Linked DNA regions of Homo sapiens: region 2 is linked to region 1. The links are contacts of gene promoters, found by promoter capture Hi-C in human tissues and cell types (Jung and others, 2019). All regions are on one chromosome and are shown on one strand. Each heading gives the region's core, a stretch centred on a gene start or on the middle of the fragment in contact. The rest is flanking DNA. Distances are from core to core; before and after follow the strand shown.

Region 1 (5,905 bases), core at 861-3,360:
CACCAGCCAGGAGTAAGAGGAGCTGACCTCTGAAGCAAGAGGAGACATGAGCTTGCTGAGCTCAGCCCCGAAACTCTGGATCCTGGGCACTCAAGTTTCCAGGCATCTGCACCTCTTCCACCAGGCAGTTCAAATGCTTTATGTTTTCAGTCTCCTTCTACACCTTTTTACATCAAACCAACCCAGAATTGCTTCACCTACATCAAGTTAGGCCTCACATCTTAAATTCAAAAATATCAGATCTGGGGGCAGGCGAGCTTAAGAAGCATCTAGTCAGCCCTTTATTTCACTGAGAAGAGACAGAAGCCCAGATAGTAAGAGAGGCATCCATGTACACACAGCTAGTTAGAGGCAGAGCCAGTGCTCAGCACATAACAGGTACCCAATAGATGCTTCTTGAGTTGATGGAACTGACATGAATCAGCCAACCTCTGGTTTTCTGTCTTTTTTTCACAAGGCAGGTTTACTCCAATAATTCCAGGTCTTGGGACAAGAGTACAAACGTAAGCTCCCTACCCACATCTTGCCTCCTCTGTTCCCACCCTCAGCACCATTCTGCACCATGAGAAGCTTCACACACATACACGTGAACAACCCAGCCTTTGTGTCCATGTTCTGGCTACATCTCCAGAGCACAGCCACTTACTGGCCTCTCTTGAATCCAAGGACACAGGAAAAAGGCCTGCACAGACACTACAGATGGACTTGAGGTAGTCTGGGGAGGAATTTCTGTAGTCCCAGTCCCCAATCATGATCTAAAAGGAGGAAAGGCATGTGGACTTTAGACGGCCTCGTCCCCTTGGCCTCAAGGACTCTTTGCCCTGTGGTAGATGTGCAGCTCCTATAAAGAGTGGGACCCTGGGCTCTAAGTTCCTAAAGAAAGTTTTGCTCAAAGCTAAATCTTTTTATCACAGGTGCATAGATAATAGAGCTAGAGTGGATTGGATCTATTATCTAAGACCAACCCCCTCATTTTGTAAATATAAAAACTGAGAGCCAGAAAGGGAAACAGACTTGCCAAGTTTACAAGGCTACTTAGCTATATAGAGCCAGTTCGTAGCACACAGCAGGTGGTCAATAAATGTTTATGTATTCAGATCAAATTGGATTAATTCACTAAACATATCTAGGAACAGAGCATAGCTGTACCCCCTGCATTCCCCCAACTCCTAGATTAAAACTTTCCCCAATGGACCTCATGGCCTCCTTCCTTCAGTTCCAACTCACTCTAAATGTCAGAGATTGCAGGGACATAGATGATATTACAGCTCTTCATTTAATGTGGACAACTAAGACCCAAAGATGGAACATAACTTTCTCAGGGTCACCCAGGGAGTTAGTGGTATTGCTAGGATTAAAAGCAAGAACTCTCTGACCCAGCCGGCTGTCTTTGTCTTTTTCCCCATCTGAGCTGACACCAGAATAAGCCCGCGACTGGGCTCTGTCTCTCCTTGGAAAGTACCCCACAGCTGTGACCCAGGGGCTGTCTGCAAGGTCCCTCCCCACTGAACCTCTCACCTGCCTGAGGCGTGCTGCTCCAGGTACTGCTTCCAGCCAGGGGCCAGCTCACTGGGCTTGAGGTTGGGGTCTATGATGAGCTCCCAGCTGTCCGCTGGCTTTGCCACCTCCATCTTCTCATAGAAGACTTTCTTCCACTCACAAGTGGTCAAGCTGGTACACATGGTCCTGCTGGCAGAGGTGGCAGTTCGAGCTCAGCCCTGGTGAGAACACAGAAAGAGCACGGATAGGTACGGGACAATTCAGTGTCTACGGTCAGAATCCTCATCGGCAGGACTGGGAGTAAACAGGACCCAGCTCCCTCCTCTGTTACCCTGGAACCTGTTACCATGGTAGCCAGGCAGGGCACCAAGAGTGAGGGCTGGGGAGAAGGGAAGCCCCAAGGGGGAGTTTCAGGGCCCTGAGTTAGGCTTCAGAGGCAGCGCTGGGTAGGCCTGAGAGGAGCAAGCACAGTGGGAGGCCCAACCTCAGACCACACTCATCTGGATTTCCAGAGGTCTCCAGGAGGCAAGGACTATTTGGTGGCCCTGCTTCACCCAACTGCTCTTCTAGCATTCTCCACATCATGTGCTATGGTAAGTACGACACCCTAGGAAGTCAAGGAGAAATGAGGGACAGGGAAAGGCAGAGCCTGCTGCTTCCACACCCCCTGATATGCTGTGACCATCACTTACCATGTGCCTAGCACAAACCGCTTGACCTGTGTGCTGGCCAAAGCAGATCAGATCAGGAAACTGAAGTTTATGCAACCCCTAAGTGGCTCATCCAAGATTCAGATCTAGGCCTTCTGAAACCGAGCTCATTTGTTTATTTATTTTAGTACTATTGTGCTCCTAACAGGGAATTGAGTGAGAAGTAACATCTCTTTGCCCAGGGCAATCTTAGACCAGTTGGTGAGCTAGAATGTAATTTCATATGCCATGCAAAGCACAGTAATAACATTTCAGATTCATAGCGTCATAGAACTGTTAGAGCCCATATTCAGTTCCTGGTCCCAAGCCAGGCTAAGGTGGCTGCTGGGGTAATGAGTTTGTTCTGTGCTGCAGGCTCCTGCTGCCTCCATTACTGCTGAGCTGGAGCAAGAGAGCATCCGTAGCTCTGTGATGCCCAATTCAAATTCTTTAGAAACCAGAGGGGAATCTGACTTCAAATTTGGTAATCCAAGTGAAGACACGGTTACCTGAAGGGAGGCTGCCTTGAGCATGGAAAAGACCAGGCATATGGCTGCTTACCCTAGCTTTGGTCCAACTTCCAACTGTAATCATCTTACGATTCTTTAACCCGGAAGTCTGGATCCCTAGACACGCAGAGTTCCAACAGTAAAGAGCTTCAAGAAGTGAAACAGGTTGCTAAGAACCGGAAGCTCTTGGTGTTGAGTTGCCAAGTGGTTTTCAGGAAGTGTGAAGTCAGGGACAATGTCACTGGATTCTCTCTTGAAATGAAAAGTGTTACTCTAGCGGCTTTGTGCTAAAGACCTCAGAAAGGACACAATTGTCTTTGAACCATTGACTGACAGCTCTAGAAGAGCTCTTTTATTTTTAAAAATCTGGTTTATTTCTTGAACTCTTCATTTCTTAACCAAAATTTATTGACATTGAATTAAAACAACTGAGGCCTGGAAATGGAAAATTACTGGCCCAGGCTCTCAGGACTGGGTAGCTCAAACCTCACTGGGGATTCCCTTAGAAGCCAGTTACCAGACCAGGTGAGACAGAGGGATCCATGAATGGCCAGGAACTGAACGAAGCTGAGATGAGCTTATGGCCTGGCCTAGACCCTCGTGCCAGGAAAGAACCTCTGAGAAATAGTATACCCTTGTTCCCAGAACAAATGGCAATAAAGGAAAAACAGAAAGAGGATGAGAATTGTCAGGGTTTACCTGTATTTTCTTTTTTCCTCAAATAATGCAATCCCCTTAGGCCTAGTATCAGGTTTAATTTAGCATAGCAGCTTCTAAGCAGAGACCAATAGAATTCATCTTTCTGTGTAACAGCACTGTTTTCACTTTTCATACAATCAGTGAGCACAATTACTACTTCAATTTTCCGCGAATGACACTATCTTATTCCAGAACCCACGATTTAAGAGCTCACAAATGTATATTGTGTACAGCTGTGGCCACATCACACTCTGGCAGCTTCATTATACATATTTTGTCTAGGCAATACTTTTTCAAATAAAGAAATTGTTATTTCTTTATAAAATAAAATACTGAGCACCTGTATTCTGCAAACAAATCAGCAAGGGGGAGGGGATGGATAAAAGAATCACTTTTCCCCTTCAATTTGGAATGCAAGTTAATGAAGAGCTTTGTAAAATATTTATTATTCAATTTTACTTATTAGAGTAATGTAAGAAATGCCAGTGTGGAGCTTAAAATGACAAAGTAATGAAGAGTTGAAAAGGTGTGTACATCAAAATCACCTGGAGAGTTCTGAAAACTGTATACACCTCTGCTTCAGAGATTTCAATACATGTTCTTGAGGAGACAAATTTGCTCTCCACCTACTCCAGTCCTGGGAAGAATCCCTTCTATTGCCAGCCATTGTTACTGATGGGATATGTTGTCCCACAGGCTACTGGAGGCCAAAAATGAAAAACAAAAAAAGAAGATTGAGTAAAATGAGCTAGTGGTTTATAATATTTCTTTACCAGGAAATAGATCCAGGACAAATGCAAGGTGTGTCCTATCTTCTCCTGTGTCTCCGCAATTCAAAGAACCGTAGACGATGCTATAGGGCGAATCCAAGATCCCCTGGGGAGTATTTTCAAGAGATATTAGGAAGGCCTCTCCATCCCCAGGATGTAGCACTTAGCGACAGCATGGTCCAAGCTCCCACTCTTTGGGTGGGAGCTGACCTCTGAATCTCAGGGGAGGCCACACAGAGCAGTCCATGGCTCTCTAATAGTGGCACATAGTGGAATCTTCCCAGGAAGATTTTACGCTGCCCTTTTATTAATTGGCAGCAACCAGAGCAACTGCAGGCAAGTGACATTCTGTTTCTGCTGGTGTCCAAGGGCCCAAATTCTGTGCACCATGCTTCCCAGCACCCCAAAGGCTCTGGAATCTGTATTAAGAGTGACTATATCTACTTATCCTTTTTTCCGGGTCTTATTATCCTAGATAGAGATTTGGTGACGAATCTATTATGGGATGTAAATACATAAAAAGACAGATAGAAATAGGGTGTGCTCCATGCAAGGGAGAAAAAAAAAAGATAGGGGTTGAGTTAGGAAGGAAGAATATAGAGGGTCTGGGGACACTTTCAGCAGGTACAGCCTATGCTGCTTCTGTCCAAGAGGCTGAGGGCCTTCATCAGAGTTCCTTAGCTATACTCAGAGAACCTGCTAGTTTCTGTTGAGCTGAGGCTCAACACACACAAAAATAGCCATGACTCATCTCTGGGACACTCCTAGCCATCAAGGCAGGGTGAAAAGGGAGCATGGGATAGATTGTGCTGGCTTTTAAAGCATCCATTCTAAAAATGACAAGGCTGGGGTCAATATCCTGGGCAGACTTTTAAAAATATATATCTTTCCTTTTAAACACACATTTACCCAGTAGAACATTTGTAGTTCCAGGGCTTTCCAGGAGACACCAATTCACATAAGGAAAGGACCCATTAAAGCTGAGTCCATTCCTGAGGCAAGTCTCTCACGATAAATAGAACGAATTTTACCTTGAGTATCTATCTTTAGGAAACAGGTCACCTTCCAAAGACTGATGGGGATTCCTTGATGAGCAGTCAGAAAGGCTGTTTGGCCCCAACACTTAGCTCAGTTAACTTCCTTGGAGACTTTACATTCCCAGAATTGACTATGTACTTCAATTTACATGGGAGTGAGAAGGGAAAGGACTAATACACTCATTAGTATTGTATTTACCCTTAAGGCTGGATACTGACTTTACCCTTTTTCTTATCCAAAAATCAAGATAAAATTGTTCAAGTGCATAAAATTGGACAAACATTACATAGATATTGCATAAACAGGCAGTTAAAAGCCCCCAGTAAAGATTTAAACAGACCACTTAGCTCTGACATTGGAACCAGAAGATACACAGTCAATAGGAGTCACAGGCCCAAAATGATCAGGCTTTGCTTAGAGTTAAGTTAAATATGCTAGAAACACTTCAATTTATTTCCCCAGTTGTCAAACAATTGGAAAGAGCATAACTACACACTATAAAAATGCTTTCTTACTCCCAAGGATAAGGCAGGTAGGTTTTATAGTAAAACAAAGCATATGAGACGCAGATCTTACATGAGATGTAAAACAAATATGTTAAACGAAGATGTTTTACATGAGATGTAAAACAAAGCATATGAGATGCAGATCTTTATATTTCTCAGTAAATTTGAGCTTTCTTGATATATGCTTATAGACA
Region 2 (5,905 bases), core at 2,189-4,688, 460 kb before region 1:
CCCCACCATTCCTCTACAGCTCCGCCATTCCTCTCTTCTCTGAGGCTTCACTGCCTGGAGTCCTTGGTTGTACTTCTGGGCAAGCCTAATTGAGGTAAATGGAATCAGCGGAATGGGTGGGATGAACATTCCCTTATTCCACATCCTCATAAGTTTTTCTCAGAAATAAAGACCTCTTATGTGAACCCTTCCTAGTCAGTTCTTACCCCTTCATTCATAGACAACCAGGCATTGTTACTTCCTTCTTCTCTGGGATCCCATAGCACCTGTGATGGTCAAAACCTGACTCCCAAATGCTAACATGTTCTTCGCTTCTTAAGGATGAATGGTAGACAACTCCATAGCCTTTCCATTTTAGTGTCTAATCTGATATCTAGAAACCTCCTGATATGGTTTGGCTATGTCCCAAACTGGCTATGTCTCATTTCTCTCTTGCCTGCCACCGTGTAAGATGTGCCTTTCACCTTCCGCCATGATTGTGAGGCCCCTCCAGCCATGTGGAACTGTGAATCCTATAACCTCTTTTTCTGTGTAAATTACCCAGTCTTGGGTTATGTCTTTATCAGCAGTGTGAGAACAGACTAATATACCAACCGTGTACTAGTATACCTTCTTTATACTGTATACTGTAGGGTTACTGAAATGTACCATTAATATAATACACTATGTCAGTTTACCCAACACTCTCATTCAGCAAAATACAAATATCACCCAATGCTTAACCATATTGCAAATTTCCTGCTGTTTGTGCAAACATGCAGATGGAATTAGACAAGGCATTTAATTTTCAGTATTCCTCAATGCTGTCTTGAGTGATTGTATCATTAAACTACTGCCATTCTTGCTTTTTTTTAAAAAAAATGTAAATTACTATGTTGTGAATATTAAATTTAACTTTTTGTGGATTATTTGTTTAACCGTAGAGTGTGCATTTTGGGGCTACACTTTTCTAAGTTGACTTGAATAGCTATACATGTGATTGCAATGCAAATCACCCATACTATTTATTTATTTATTTTTCAAGACAGAGTCTAGCTCTGGCACCCAGGCTGGAGTGCAATGGTGCAATCTCAGCTCACTGTAGCCTCTGCCCCCTGGGTTCAAGCAATTCTCCTCTCTCAGCCTCCTGAGTAGCTGGGATTACAGATGCACACCACCACGACTGGCTAATTTTTTTTTCTATTTTTAGTATAGATGGGGTTCCACTGTGTTGACCAGGCTGGTCTTGAACTCCTGACTTCAGATGATCCACCCGCCTTGGCCTCCCAAAGTGTTGAGATTACAGGCATGAGCCACCACGCTTGGCCTATACTTTTAATGCTAAAGCAAATATCCTCAAAATCTGTATGCACAGTAACACTTCCTGTTACCACAAAATTTTCTTTCCATTTTAAAGTGGAGTCAGTAAGTAAACCATGGGAATCGGAAAGGCTTGACTACGTTGCTGTTTGGAAGAAAGAATTTGTCACTCTGTCTTATCATGATGTTGTTTGTGTTATCATCTCCTTGATAGCATGGTGAGTGCTTGAGGACAGGGTGCCCACTTTTTAAATTTCCCCGGCACAACAGCAGATGCACATGCAAACTGTGTTATATGAAAAATCTTGTGGCAAGGGCACAGAGACGGGACAGGAGGGCTCTCAGAGTGATGGAGCAGGCAGAAAATACAGGCTGGTTTGAGAAGGTGTGAAGCAAGTCTTCTCTGACCTTTAACCTTTTGAAGACATCTCTTAAAAAGCAACCAAAGCATCACCTCCCCTGTCCCCCATCACCCTGTTAACAGCCAGAAAACCTGGGGTCCTAGGGCCTTGGATGGAAAACTGTGAGGCAAAGGATTTGGAGGGTGAGGTACCTGGAAGGCAGGTGGGTAGGCTTCTCCCCAATACTTTATTCATCCAGACTCCTTGGGCAGAACAGGTATATATACCTGGATTAGTGAAAGAGGTTAGGAGAGGAGGGAGAAAATGGTTGATTTGTAACACATGGAAAATAGATCTGGGTATTTAATTTCTCTAAAGTGAGTTATTACAAAGTCCTCCAAATGGTCATCTAGGCTCAGATACGATTGTCTCTGAGCCTAGATGTACTAAGAAGAATGAGGAAGAATGTGGCAGGTACTCTCTGGGATACAATCCTCCAAAGGGACCAATTAACCTCCAAATATCTTCAAATACCCACAGGGCTACCATCCTAGTCCTTCTATCAAACTCCCTTTGCAACATGAAGGATCTTTCTAAAATGGGAATGTGACCATGTCCTTTCTCAGCTCAGAATCACGAATGGCTTGCTGTCACCCCCAAAAATAAACACCACACTCTTCAGCATGGTGTCTGTCCAAAGCTCTGGGGAATCCCACTCCTGCCTGGCTGAGGGCTGCTCCCCTCCCCACCCCACGCTGCCCAGGTCCTGGAAGGCACCTCCGCCTCACTTGTCACAAAGACCTGGGCTCACATGGCTCCCTGTTGCACAGATGCCCTTTCCTTTCTTCTCCATTTGACAGACTCTTTAATAAGCATACATTTGTGGCCACCATCTCACTGGCATTTTGAAATAGCTCTAAGAGCTTTGTAACTCTTCCCTCTTTTAAAAATGAGGACTTGGGGCCAGGTGCAGTGGCTCACGCTTGTAATCCCAGCACTTTGGGAGGCCGAGGCGGGCGGATCACTTGAGGTCAGGAGTTTGAGACCAGCCTGACCAACATGGCAAAAGCGGGTCTCTACTAAAAATACAAAAATTAGCTGGGCATGGTGGCAAGCTTCTGTAATCACAGCTGCTTGGGAGGCTGAGGCGAGAGAATTGCTTGAACCCAGGACGTGGAGGTTGCAGTGAGCCGACATCACACCACTGCACTCCAGCCTGGGTGACAGAGTGAGACCCTGTCTCAAAAACAAAAACAAAAACAAAGAGGAGTTGGAGGCTTAGATGAGTCAGGAGAATGTTCTCAGTGCTTGCATGCCAGAGAGGCAGAGCCGATGGGCCCTCCTTTCTCCCTGAGAGTTCCTTTTCTGCTAGGGACTATGAGTGCATGTGAGCGGGTGTTGGGCTGCCACAAGGCAGGGAGAGGCGGGTTATGTCTCTAAGCATTTCTCCTCCCAGTTCCTCCCAAACCCCCAGTGTGGCCAATGGTCAGGTTATTGCTGGTCCTTCACCCTCTGGCCAGTGTGCTGCTGCCCAGCCCCTGGGGCAGCCAGGGGTCTCTGCCAGGTGGCATGGATGGGGCCTGGACAGGGACTGCTGTGGCTGTGCTTGAGCTGTGGTCAGGGGATATGCTGGGCTACCTGGGGAGACAGAGGATCCACTCCTCGCTCCCCAACCCTGCCTGGACCCCTGTCCGTACCAGGGGAAGAGGTCTTTGAAGGAAGGTCCCTTACCTGCTGAATGGGTCTGGCCTGGTGAGATGTTGCCCTCACCCAGAAGCCAAGGCAGAGTCTGGGTGAAGCAGTAATACTGGCCTTTTTTTGGAAACCCCAACTCAGCCTCAGACCACATGAAGGAGTTTAACTTGGGGGATTCCAGGCTTCCTTTAGGGTCTCGTTTCTTCTCTTAGTTGTGTCAGTGTGTGACTCCTTCACGCTCCCACCAACAACTCATTAGTAAATCAGTGCTAGCTTTAAAGTTAAAAACAAAAAAGCCTGCTTTTTGGTTTTGAGACTGTTTCTGCATCTCCACATGGACACAGTAACACAAGCTCATGAAAAGTGAGAACCTGAGATGTGTGAGTGACACGTTTTGCATTATCAGGCTCTACACACTTATGAGCAGTTCTTCCTTTCACAGCTGTCTCGGCCCCCAGTCCAACCCTGAGGCCCCGAGAGTGTGAAACGGGAGTGGGATGGCTTAGCATGGATGGCTTACCTGTGTTATTGTTGAGCATCTTGTAATAGGGCTCCTGACAGGAGTATTTGATCTCAGACTTGTATGTGGTGAGGTTGTTCCTTGTAGAGAAGGTGATCAGCCCGTGTTCCAGCTCTCCTGGGGCTCTACAGTCTACAACTGAGAGAGAAGAAGTGAGACCCCTCAACTGCCTTTTGCTCATCCTCCTTTGGCTATCTGATGGATCTATCTCATGCAGATGTACAGGTTGTGCACTGCACACAATTCCAGAAAGCAATGTTATAATGCCTCTGAAGGGCACCCCTGGGGTGTGCAGTGTACAGCCTGTGAAGCTACCCATGGTCCTGCTTTTGAGGTCTCTTCCATTCATTATGGTACTACTGTGTGGTCAACTCACCTGCCCAGTGTCAATTTTGGGTAGGGGAAGGTCTACTGAGGTTTAAGCAGACTCCAGTCTTTTACCCACCAGGGCCTCTTTCTTTTACTTCTAGTTTTATTGTGCAATCCTCTCTGCCTCTTCTGCCCAAGAATGAAGCCCTTGGCTTAGTGAGAAAACTCTAGCTGACATAAACTAAATAATCTTTTGTTCTTCTAGTCCCAATCCTAGGCTGAGTAACAGCAGCTAATGTGCTCACATTGGAGTTTGGCACAAAAAATAAAAAAACCCAGCTCCTGTATGAGTACACAGCCCCACCCTGCTGCCTCTCTACAGGCAGCTTGCTTGGCCATAGAAGCCAGGAGGCAGGGTTGGAGGTGGATCAGCTTTCAGTCTTCCCCTGTTCATTTTCTATAATTGTTGATGGCCGCATGTTTGAGCCATAATTCCCAGTACAGGACATGAATAAAGATGCCTGCTCCTCAGAGGTGGTCTTTGGGGAGCTTTCCAGTCCAGCTCAGTCTTAGGGGAGTTGTCAGCACTGATGGAGCCCAGTGTGAGTCAGCTGAGAGTCAGGGCATCTTTTCATGGCCATATCAGAGGCTCTGGACCCAAATTTGTCAATCTTTTCATTCTTAAGGAAATCCTAATCTTAGGTATAACAGCCTATGCCAGAGTCGAAGAATCATAGATGAATCATAGAATGTCACAGCTGGAAAGAAACCTGAAGTAGGCAATCTAGAATGTCCTCTTTATTTTATCTATGAGCCCAGAGAGGAGACTTGACTCGTCTAAGGACATACAGCAAGTTACTATCAGAATGAGAGCAAGATTTGACCTCAAACCCAGGGCTGTTTTAGTAAATGGAACTAGTGGTTCTTAAGGATCTGTTTTCCAGTTAAATGGCCTATTCTAGGTACTAGCTGGCCAATGGTGGACATCAACTGTCAGAATTTCCAGAGCCCTGGTAAAATTTCCAAAGTTCCATGTCCTCCTGAATTTTACCTGGTCATTTTGGGAAACAGTGAGATATAATTTATCCCTGAGTGCCATTTAGACATTGTGATTTTAACTTTAGGACTCCAAATTCATCTTTTTGATTAGCTAGAGAGTCCACTCAAAATGCAAATAATTTCAAGTCCCTCCGGGTTGGAGGAAAAGATGAAGGAGGGGAGTAAATATAGGTACTTCTTATCCACTAAGAAGGCCAATCAAGACAACTGGTTTTGTCCTGGCCTCTAGTCCAATCACCCTGGACAAATCATCTCCATTTGTTTTGATGATCCAAAAGTACAGATGCTCTTCTACTTTGTGAGGTAAATGTGTGCAGCTCAACACTAGGATAATGAGGCAATAATATTTATTATTTAAATACTATGAACAGTTTTAAATTTATTTTCTGTTAAAGCCGATTTTTCCTCCTTTTTCAGAAAATGCCATTGACTTGGTGCCTAGGTATTGGTATCACTCATCTCCCTTAACTTTGGTCCACCTGACCGCCCAGTTCAGGAATTCCAGGGTTGGCTTTAGTGTGGCTAGATGGACGGGCCCCTGGGAGCCTGTTATGTGGCTGATGCTGGCGGATAGATATTTTCTGGGTGGAGGACCTACTTTCACATCACTTCAGAGAAGTAACTTTGCCCACTGATACAGCTGGCCCTACAACTAGGTAGAGGGGGTGATAAATAGTGGAAG

The links. Contacts are between HindIII fragments. The study calls those that stand out against the background at their distance.
Region 2: a fragment that was not itself captured here is called in contact with the fragment with the promoter of RTP2 in region 1 in 1 of the 25 tissues and cell types used here (mesendoderm cells).

The regions. Positions count from the first base shown.
Region 1 is chr3:187,700,447-187,706,351 of GRCh38, forward strand. It overlaps RTP2 (receptor transporter protein 2), which reads right to left and starts at 2,111. Exons shown (of 2, transcript NM_001004312.2): 1 at 1,519-2,111. The coding sequence starts at 1,682. LOC100131635 (hCG1645011-like) reads left to right here and starts at 1,920. Exons shown (of 3, transcript NR_034062.1): 1 at 1,920-2,093. The HindIII fragment of the contact is 10,678 bases long and covers 1-5,905 here.
Region 2 is chr3:187,239,629-187,245,533 of GRCh38, forward strand. It overlaps MASP1 (MBL associated serine protease 1), which reads right to left. Exons shown (of 11, transcript NM_139125.4): 9 at 3,856-3,993; 10 at 1,853-1,927. Among named protein-coding and RNA genes, the nearest start is that of RTP1, 45 kb to the left of the region's middle. The HindIII fragment of the contact is 6,418 bases long and covers 230-5,905 here.